Regions from separate parts of the Homo sapiens genome. Here region 2 is linked to region 1. Evidence: promoter capture Hi-C in 16 types of primary human blood cells and fetal thymus (Javierre and others, 2016). All regions are on one chromosome and are shown on one strand. The core of a region is centred on a gene start or on the middle of the fragment in contact, and the rest is flanking DNA. Distances in the headings are between cores, read along the strand shown. Region 1 overlaps RABGAP1L (RAB GTPase activating protein 1 like). Region 2 holds the start of GAS5 (growth arrest specific 5).

The links. The method cuts DNA at HindIII sites, captures the fragments that hold promoters and counts their contacts. A CHiCAGO score of 5 or more calls a contact.
Region 2: a contact is called between the fragment with the promoter of GAS5 here and a fragment that was not itself captured in region 1, in 1 of 17 cell types (neutrophils). The highest score is 11.7, in neutrophils.

The regions. Positions count from the first base shown.
Region 1 is chr1:174,740,469-174,745,595 of GRCh38, forward strand. The region is part of intron 17 of RABGAP1L (RAB GTPase activating protein 1 like); the gene reads left to right. Among named protein-coding and RNA genes, the nearest start is that of RABGAP1L-AS1, 210 kb to the right of the region's middle. The HindIII fragment of the contact is 3,092 bases long and covers 1-2,915 here.
Region 2 is chr1:173,865,398-173,870,537 of GRCh38, forward strand. It overlaps GAS5 (growth arrest specific 5), which reads right to left and starts at 2,592. Exons shown (of 12, transcript NR_002578.4): 1 at 2,563-2,592; 2 at 1,594-1,646; 3 at 1,364-1,399; 4 at 1,131-1,170; 5 at 780-809; 6 at 460-497; 7 at 74-150. It overlaps ZBTB37 (zinc finger and BTB domain containing 37), which reads left to right and starts at 2,983. Exons shown (of 5, transcript NM_001122770.3): 1 at 2,983-3,008; 2 at 3,528-3,723; 3 at 4,803-5,140. The coding sequence starts at 4,829. It overlaps SNORD75 (small nucleolar RNA, C/D box 75), which reads right to left and starts at 1,541; the gene lies at 1,482-1,541. SNORD74 (small nucleolar RNA, C/D box 74) reads right to left here and starts at 2,348; the gene lies at 2,277-2,348. It also overlaps SNORD79, SNORD78, SNORD44, SNORA103, SNORD77 and SNORD76. RefSeq lists a silencer at 3,018-3,427 and enhancers at 3,062-4,261, 4,776-4,875. The HindIII fragment of the contact is 5,638 bases long and covers 1-4,273 here.

The DNA.
Region 1 (5,127 bases), core at 120-2,619:
TCTTGCTCAATTCATCAGCTGTTTCCAGGCAAAATTACATACCACTTCTTGAGTGTTTTAAAGCCTCCTAACTGTATATATGTGAGTTCTTTGATATATTGACTTCTTTTTCTTTGAGTCGATTCCCAGTAGTGGCATTGCTGGATCAAATGGTAATTATATTTTTATTTTTTTGAGAAATCTCCATACTGTTTTCCATAGTGGCTGTACTAGTTTACATTCCCACCAACAGTGTATATGAGTTCCCTTTTCTCCACTTTCTTGTCAACATCTGTCTTTTTTAATAATAGGGATTCTGGCTGAGGTATGCTATCTCATTGTGGTTTTGATTTGCATTTCTCTGATGATTCATGAGGTTGAACATTTTTTCATATACCTGTTGGCTGTTTGTATTTATTTTTTTGAGAAATGGCTATTCATATACTTTGCCCAAGTATGAATGGGATTATTTGTTTTTTTCCTGTTGAGTTGAGTTCCTTATCTGTTCTATATATTAGTTCCTGTTGGATAAATAATTTGCAAATATTTTATCCCATTCTGCAGGTTGTCTCTTCACTCTGTTGATTTTTTTGTTTTGTTTTTTTTTTTTTGTGTGTGGGAGCTTTTTAGTTTAATTAATTCCCAATCACTTATTTTTGGTTTTGTTGCCTGATCTTTTGAGGCCTTTGTAACAAATTCTTTGCCTAAACCAACAACCAGGAGAGGGTTCCCTAGATTTTTTCTTCTAATATTTCTATAGTATCAGGTTTTACTTTTAAGTCTTTAATCTACTTTGAGTTCATTTTTGTATATGGTGAGATAATGGTCCAGTTACATTCTTCTGCATGGCTATACAATTTTCCCAGCACCGTTTATTGAAGAGATTGTCCTTTCCCCAGTGTAAGTTTTTGTTGTTTGTTTTTGTGTTTTTTTGAGACAGAGTCTTGCCTTGTCACCCAGGCTGGAGTGCAGTGGCATGATCACTGCTCACTGTGGCCTCAACCTCATGGGCCCAGATGATCCCCCTGCCTCACCCTCCCAAGTAGCTCAGACTACAGGCATTTGCTGCCACACCTGACTGGTGTTTTATTTTTTGTAGAGATGGGGTCTCACTCTGTTGCCTAGGCTGGTTTTGAACTCCTGGGTTCAAGCAATCCTCCTGCCTCAGCCTTCCAAAGTGTTGGGATTACAGGTGTGAGCCACTGTACCCGGCCCCCAGTATAAATTCTTGTTGGCTTTGTTGAAGATCAGTTGGCTGTAACTATGTGTCTTTATTTCTGAGTTCTCTGTTTTGTTCTACTGGTCTATGTGGCTACTTTTATACCATGTTGTGGCATTTTTAAGGATTTTTTTTTTAAGTGGGGAGTTTGAGACCAGCCTGGGCAACATGGCAAAAGCCTATTTCTACAAAAAAAAAAAAAAAAAAAAAAAAAGTAGAAAAATTAGCCAGGCATGGTGGCATGCGCCTATAGACCCAGCTACTTGGGAGGCTGAGGTGGGAGGATTGCTTGAGCCTGGAAGGTTGAGGCTGTGGTGAGCCATGATAGCACTACTATGCTCCAGCCTGGGTGACAGAGCAAGACCCTGTCTCAAAAAAAAAAGAAGAAGAAGAAGAGGAAGAGGAGGGGGAGGGGGGAGGAGGAGGAAAGAAGAAGAAGAGGAGGAGGGGGAGGGGGAGGAGGAAGAAAGAAGAAGAGGAAGAGGAGAGGGAGGGGGAGGAGGAGGAAAGAAGAAGAAGAGGAGGAGGGGGAGGGGGAGGAGGAGGAAAGAAGAAGAAGAAAGAAAAGGGGGCCAGATGCGGTGGCTCAGCTTGTAATCCCAGCACTTTAGGAGGCCAAGGCAGGTGGATCACTTGAGGTCAGGAGTTCGAGACCAGCCTAACTAATGTGGTGAAACCCATCTCTACTAAAAATACAAAAATTAGTTGAGTGTAGTGGCGCACACCTGTAATCCCAGCTACTCGGGAGGCTGAGGCAGGAGATTTGCTTAAGCCCAGGAGGCGGAGGTTGCAGTGAGCTGAGATCGCGCCACTGCACTCCAGCCTAAGCGACAGAGCAAGACTTCATTTCAAAGAAAAAGGAAGAAAGAAAAGTGGTATGAGCACAAGAACTCTAACAAAAGATTTCTGGATGGATTGGGTTAATGGAAAACTGGCAGAAGCCTGGAGGAAGGAGAAGGTCAAGATCAGCTAATAGTAGCTGATAAGAAGTCCTGTATCATTATGAAGAGTATCAAAAGCACCCCTGCAGCCTGGGATGGTTGACTGATAACTATAACTGTAAAACAATATAATCCGATGTGTATCATGACTTAAGAGAATTTGAGAAGAACAGAAAGGTGAATGCCAGTATTCAATGGCCAATGGAACATGTGTTTAGGGACTTTATAGCAATACTTCAGTGCTCTAATGTTCAGGTCATACCTCCCTATCATTCCCTAGGTGGTGTGTTATCTGTTTATATTTTTATCTGCTATCCTAATCTGGGAGTCCTCTGAGTGTAGGGATGACTTATCCATCTTTGTAAATGTCCTCAAAATGCTTGACATATGATGAATATGTTACCACAACACCAGGGGTTCAGTCTAGGTCCTGCTGCTCACAGCACAGAAAGCCAATGACTAAGATGATGATTATTGCCAAGGAAGAAGGCTTTAATTGGGGGCTGCAGCAGACGAGATGAGATGGGAGCTCAGTCTCAAATCCATCTCCCTGACAAACTGAAACTAGGGACTTATATAGCAGGGAAGAGATATAGCAATATGTAAGAAACAGGAACTAGAGAGGGGTAAGGAAGCAATTATGGTGAATGAGGGGCCCTCATCTCATTATCTGGATATGGTGATCTGGTGAGTTCCAGTTCTTCCATACTTTTTTTTGAGAGACCTGAAGGTCCTTTGTTGAGTAAGGAATCCGATAAAACAAATGTTAAGGTTCAAGCTTCAAGACCAAAAACGTCAATTTCTATGTTTATCCAAAAAACTATCTATTGAACTATTGGGTCAGTTTGAAACACATGTTAAAACCTCTAATTTGATTTCCTTATCTCATTTTGCCTGCCTTGTTTCTGAAAGTTTTATCTAATTCAGATGTCACAAACCTCTAAAAATTTCTTTCCTTGTTCAACAAACCCCCTATGTCACAAGTTTACCTGCATAACAAACCTGAACATATACCTTTGAACCTAAAATAAAAGTTTAAAATAAATGAATAAATAAATAAATAATAGCAAAACTATGTTTTTTTAAAAAAAATTCTTCTCAGAGTCACCTATGATAAAGACTTCTAGATTTTGTAGATATTTTACTACTTAATCTGTACAAACAAGTGTAAACCAAGAAAATATTTTAAAATTACTCATGACTAAACAGATGCATTCATGTTAAACTTATCTCTCATCCCTACCCATTCTTGAACTCTTTCTCATTCACTAGTCATTTATGAAAAAACTGTATAACAAATAACTATAATAAAATGGAAAATATATAATTAAGCTAGAGGAAAGGAAGGGTGGGAGTCATCCTTTTTTTTTGGTATATGTTAGTAAATTAATAGTAAAAATAAGGGAGGACTTAGCCATAAGGGTTTTAAAACAGCATGTCTCAATTTGTATACAAGGCTACTATGTTGGTCTGTGAAATACGTAAAAAAAAAAAAAAAAAAAAAAAAAAAGCGATTGATTTTCAGTGCTGCAATCCTGACCTCTAGTGGACATTCAGAACAAAACCCAAACATCACATTCTTTTATTTAGTTACTCCATCAAGCACCATTAGCCAACCTAAAATATTAAACTTTCAAAGAGATTAAAACATGAGAAGCAGAATAAAGTAAAAGAATTTTTGGCTAATATTCTAAATATTCTTGCTGTAGAACCTGTATTTAAGAGCAGCTAGTATTAACTTATTTCTTTTTGCGTGTTAATTATCTGTCACTTTCACTACTTTCTTTGAAACAATGCATTGCTTTATAGATCATAGCAGCAAGAAATTTATCAGAGAAGCCAAATGGATTTTCTTTTGATTACCTGTAATATATAACAAGCTATACGAAAACTGAGTGGCTTTAAAAGGACAATGATTTTTATAGTGAGACATATAGTGATGTTATGTAACCTCCTGATAGAATGCACTGAGAAGGGCACAGCATCACTTCTGTGGTATTTGTGCCCAAAATACATATTCTGAATTTAATCATAAGGAACCAGTAGACATATCGAGTTGAGGGACATTTTATAAAATAACTGGCCAATACTCTTCCAAAGCATCAAGGTCATGAAAAATAAACACTGAAAACGGTCCCATATGAAAGGAGACTAAGGAGACATGACAACCAAATTCAATATATAATCCAGAATTGCATCCTGGACCAGAAAAAGGGCATTAGTGGAGCATTTGATAAAAATAATAGTTTCTTGGTTTTGATCATTATACTATGGTTATGTAAGATGTTAATGTTTGGGTAAAACTGAGTGAAGGATATGTAGGACTTCTTGGTACTGTTTTTGCAAAGTTTTTCTAAATCCGAAATTATTTCCAAGTGAAAAAAAGTAATTAAAACCAATCATTTATTTTCTTACAATCTCATGAGTCAGAAATTTTGGAATTCAACTGTGTGGTTCATCTCTGATCCACTTGGCATCAGCTGGACCACCTGATTCACTTCCAGATGACTTCTTTACTCACATATCTACCACTTTGGTGATTCTTGGTCTTTCTTCTTTACTGATGAAATCTGGTTCTCCAGGCCTTCTTTTGATTGCTTGGTTCCTTAGAGAGCATGGGAGTATAAGTATAATTGCACTTCTTATATGGTAGCTGGCTTCGAAAAGTGAGTGCTCCAAGGGACTGAACATGAAAGCTGTCAATATCTGAAGGCCTGGGCACATAAACTAGCATGGCATCACTTCCACCATATTCTACTGGTAAAAGCAGTACCATAGTCTGCCCAGGTTGAAATGAGAGAACAGAGACCTTAACTCTCAATGGAGAAGCATCAAATAATTGTGACTCTTTAATCCATCACAGATATCTAACAAAAGTCTCACTGAGTTGGCACTCAAGATGGAATTAGTGGAAAAAAGCCTGGATTTGCTTTAGTCTGATAGACCTGAGTTATAGCCTGGCTTTACCATTTACTAACAGTGTTCTGT
Region 2 (5,140 bases), core at 1,342-3,841, 870 kb before region 1:
CATCTGCTTTAATTTTAAAATCATCACTAACAGTAGCTCAATCAATTAACGTTAACATCAATAAAACATGTACCTTTAAAAGGTATGACAGGAACTGTCTTCATGTCCTTACCCAAGCAAGTCATCCATGGATAAAAACGTTACCAGGAGCTGGAATACAAATGAGGACTTCCATTAAAATGCTAAACATCATTAAACTCTTTTCAAAGTTGTCTGTCACAGGGTTCTTCAGTGTTACCTTTGTCTACATGCTCATTTCAGGTCAGACATTTGATCAACATCATTACACAAACCCCGTTCCAAACATGCTCAAGGAAAACACATAAACACTGTTCCAGACATGCTCAAGGAAAATACAGTCAGTATTCATCAGCCAAGCCTTAAGCCATTAGCTCAGCAGTAAGCATATCACCATCAGCATTTTCATTAAGTCTATCTACTGTTTTCATTAATACTTACCAGAACCATTAAGCTGGTCCAGGCAAGTTGGACTCCACCTAAGAAATAAGAGTGGTCTTAGAATAGCCACAGATGAGTGTTCACCCCCTGCCAAAACTAACAAATGCCTTTAGTCAGTTAGAGCTAATTAAGACCTTCATGTTCAGTCAGCATTTGCTTATCATCATCCAGGCTGCATTTACAAACTTTCTTATTAATCATAACAAGACAAGAATCCGCCATTTATTTAATGCATTCAGCACTAGGAGGTAACTAAAAAGCCATTTGTGCCGTAGGAAGTTTGCCCAGTTACCTGCTTACTTGGATACAGTTTCACTTACCATTTCAACTTCCAGCTTTCTGTCTAATGCCTGTAATTTTAATACAAAATTGTCAGCAAAAAATATTTTAATGGTAGATTGGTGGTACACTGCTTAACCATTAACAGCAAACCACAACTACCCCAGATACATCAGACAGATAGTACATCTCTTCATGATTAAATCTGCTGAACTATGCAACCATCATAGTATCTGTTTTCACATTTTCTTCAGTATTAAACTTAGTATCAATATGAGAGCAAAATTCTCATTTGAAAAGAGGGGAGAGAAGCACTAACATAGATAATCATCATTGCTTTGGCTATTTTCTAATCCCTTAAAAGTGAGAAGTACAAAATAGAGGTGTCTCACCTGTGTGCCAATGGCTTGAGTTAGGCTTGCTCTTTAGGACCTGGGAAGAAACAACTTCATGTGAACTTAGGTGTACTCTCTATGTTCCCCAACTCACCATTTTGGGTGCCTCAGTTAAGATAATGGTGGTTAAGATCCTCATCATTCTAGCACTCAAGAGTAGCAAATAAACTGTCATCATTGTGGCACATCCAATGGCTTTAAACCTTTTTGAGAGGGAATTTTCAACTTACTTCAGTAGCTATTCTCATCCTTCCTTGGGGACACAACTAGAAAACAAAAAGATGCAAGCAAAACAGTGAGAATGAACCTCACAGCAGTCACGTTAAATATAAATGCTGTTAACATTAAAGCCTCAGAATAGAATTTCAGAAATCCCTTCTGTCCACTACTCTTAAAGCATCACAGGCTGAGACCACCTCTTAGATTTCATTCTTCCCACCATACTTTCCCCAATTCTTACCTGTCCATAAGGTGCTATCCAGAGCCACACTGCATCTGCACCCAGCACCATACCTAAAGAGATCAGGTACAGATTTTAATTCATTGTTCCACGGTTCTTTTTTTTAAAGAGTGTTCTTTAAAAAAACGGTTCGTCTTTTTAAACCAATGATGCAGGTAACATACCATTCATTATCTAGCGACAGGTAAAGGATACACTTAATGTTACAAAGAAGCACTGCACCCGCAGTTAAGAACCACCGATGGCGGCCGGGCGCGGTGGCTCACGGCTTGTAATCCCAGTATGTTGGGGGACCACGGCTGGTGGATCACCTGAGGTCAGGAGTTCAAGACCAGTCTCGCCAACATGGTGAAACCCCGTCTCTACTAAAAATATAAAAGCCTAGCATGGTGGCGCGCGCCTGTAGTCCCAGTTACTTGGGAGGCTGAGGCAGAACTGCTTAACTCGGGACGCGGAGGTTGCCATTAACCGATGTCGAGCCACTGCATTCCAGCCTGGGTGACAGAACGAGGCTCGGTCTCAAAAAAGAAAAAAGAAACACTAATGGAAATATTGGTGACACTGCGGAATGCAGGCACTTAAGCACGTGGACTACCACCGACAGCCTTTCATGAGAGCGGACGGCTGATGGAGGCTCGGGTCACGGCCCTTAACAATAGCTTACTCGGGTGACTCGGCATGTGCCACCATCAGAGCGGTTGGCATTCATCATTACTCTCAGATGTCCCTACCAACACAGGCTTCATCAGAGGCAGGGCACGAGAGCCGAGGCTTCTCCGCAGTTCTACTCTAACATAGTCGCAGCTTAGGTCACGCATGCACCATATGTGCAATCCCCCACCATCCTCAACTTGTAGGCCCTGCAAAGGCGCGCGACTGGCTTAGAAGTCCCAGTCAATTCAGGGTGACCTTAGCAGACAAAGGCTGGAGCGCCCCAAAACCCGCAACATTCGCAAAGATAAAACATACCTCACAGGAGTCGACTCCTACCTCGAAAAGACAGTATGGTGCCTGGGCTCCTGTATATAAGAGTTCTTTTGATGACGTCACGACGCACGCTCCCGGCAGCGTCCGCTTCGGCTCCTCCCCCTAACCTCCCTCAATCTTCCTCTCATCCAGTATCACCTTCTTCCCACCCCTTAAGTCCGCCCCTTTTCCCCGCCCTTCCTCGCCATTGTGGGCAGAGACATGACCGTCCACGTGATGCCGTGCTCCCGCCCTCCTCCCGACTGAGGAGGAAGAGCAGAGAGGGGAGGGGGCGCGAGGCAAGGAAAGCTCTGGGGATGGGGGAAGGGGGGGCGGTGTAAGGCTGAGTGATTTCCTTCCGGCACGTCGCCCGCTCCGTGGGAGGGGGTGGGGGATTTCACTTCCGGGACGGTGTTCCGGCCCATTCCGGCCCATTTCCACCCCCGGAGGTAGGTGCTGCTCCTTGACTGGACTCGGGCCCCACACCCCAGTGCCACTTCCCTGCACCGGGGTCACCTCGCCCGCCCTCCGCCGCAGCGCGCTCCTGGGGCGCTCAGCTACTTTCCTTCACCCCGCCTCCAGGCACCGGGCGACCTTCCACCCCCTTGGCCCCCGGCCGGGCTGATCTGCCGGACCCGCCCCCTCGCGGGGCCCCTCCCTCAGGACCCCGGGAAGGGCGGCCCCCTCCCCCACCGCAGCCGGGACACACCCAGATACGCACACCCACCTCCTGGCAGCTCCCCGCCCGCCGCCGCCTGGAGCCGGTCCCTGGGCGCCGCCCCCTTCCTAGTTCTCACCTGAGCGCTGGCTCCCCCGCCCGACGCCTTGTCCCCATCTTCTCCGAAGTTCCTCAGTGACATTTTGCCCTTTAGCCAGTTCCCCTCTCCCCAGGCTTCCTAACGCAGAAGAAAGCTGCTCAAGTGCTGGAGTGGCCAACCCCATGCCGTTCCCAATTCTCCCTTTTACAGCTCTCACCCCTCCAGTGCCGACGGTAGCGAAAGACTTTCCTCCAGGGGCTTCCTCACTGGGGAATTGCCGGAAAGAGCAAACAAAAAAGGCGCTGGTGTAGGCTCCAAAATAAACACATCTGAATTCATGATGGCATCGACAGAGGCTCTTATTGGATTAAAAGTTTCAAAACAAACAATAACGCTTTGGAAAAAGGTCAGATTGGCTAAAGTTGATTGTTGAAAACAGTGTATACACTTCCCTATTTAATAAGTGTGTTGTTAATGCGGGGCAGTACTGTGAGCTTGGCAGAGTAAGTTCCTGAAGTTTCAGGTGTGGTGTAACTATGTAATATATAGATAAGTGAACGCACATTGGGCTTAAGTAAATGTCTTCCTGTTCGGATTTATACAAACTATTTTCAGTAGTTGAAACTGTACTTTCAACTATCTTGTATACAGCTTCAGGTTTAGTGTTTCAGCCATTTTTTAAAAATATTTTAATGGAAAAATGTTGGCATACTTGGTAAATGCTGTATTTTTTCATCGGATCTGGAGAACTAAGTTTCAGGATGGAAGTATTCATCACCACCTCGGAATTGCCAACTTCGAATTTGGCAGATTTACCCAGCTTTCCTAATTTTGACAACTGAACTTCACATTCTCTGCATCTTGGTTGAATCCTGGCACAGCTGTGGGATTTTTCCTAGAGTTTGCTTCACAGCCCTATAACCAAAGTCTTTTTGTGGGGGGGGCTCTGATTCTTAAGCTTAGAAATATTAGCCTACATTCATGTGGGATATTAGTCCTTTTATAAAATAATAAACATAATTCTTGCAGCAGGTAGTAAAATACTAAGAAGAGGGATATCAAGCTATGTAGAATTGCATTTATTCAGAAAGCTTTCCTCCTCCAGAGAAAAGTTGTAAAGTTATGAGATGTTATATTCAGTCTGCAAGTACCTTATAGTTAACACTTAAAAGTCCTTCCCCCTACCTTCTGTTGAACTTCTGTTTTGATGTTATATAACTTATTAGTAAGGAAAGCATGGTCATAACATGAATTTTTAGGAGTCTAAAGATCACTTTTTAGTTTTAACTATGTCCTCCTGTGAAACTTAAACTGAAAAACCTGTTGGTGATTCTGTTTCCACATCTAAATATAAGGAAGGTATTTCTTTTATCTGGAGATTTTGAAACTTTACCAGATAACTATGTTTAAATACTTTTGAAATGGAAACCATCCGGGAAGTAAAATTATAATTATTAATGAGAATATGGTTTCTTTTTTCAGCAGGGTTGAATGCACCCTCAGGCACGACCATGGAGAAAGGTGGGAACATACAATTGGAGATTCCTGACTTCAGCAACTCTGTCCTGAGCCATCTAAACCAGTTGCGCATGCAGGGCCGTCTCTGTGATATTGTGGTCAATGTGCAAGGACAAGCTTTTCGGGCTCACAAAGTGGTGCTGGCTGCCAGCTCCCCCTATTTCCGGGATCACATGTCCTTGAATGAGATGAGTACAGTCTCCATTTCAGTCATCAAGAACCCTACTGTTTTTGAACAGCTCCTTTCTTTCTGTTACACAGGGCGGATATGCCTGCAACTGGCAGATATCATCAGCTACCTAACA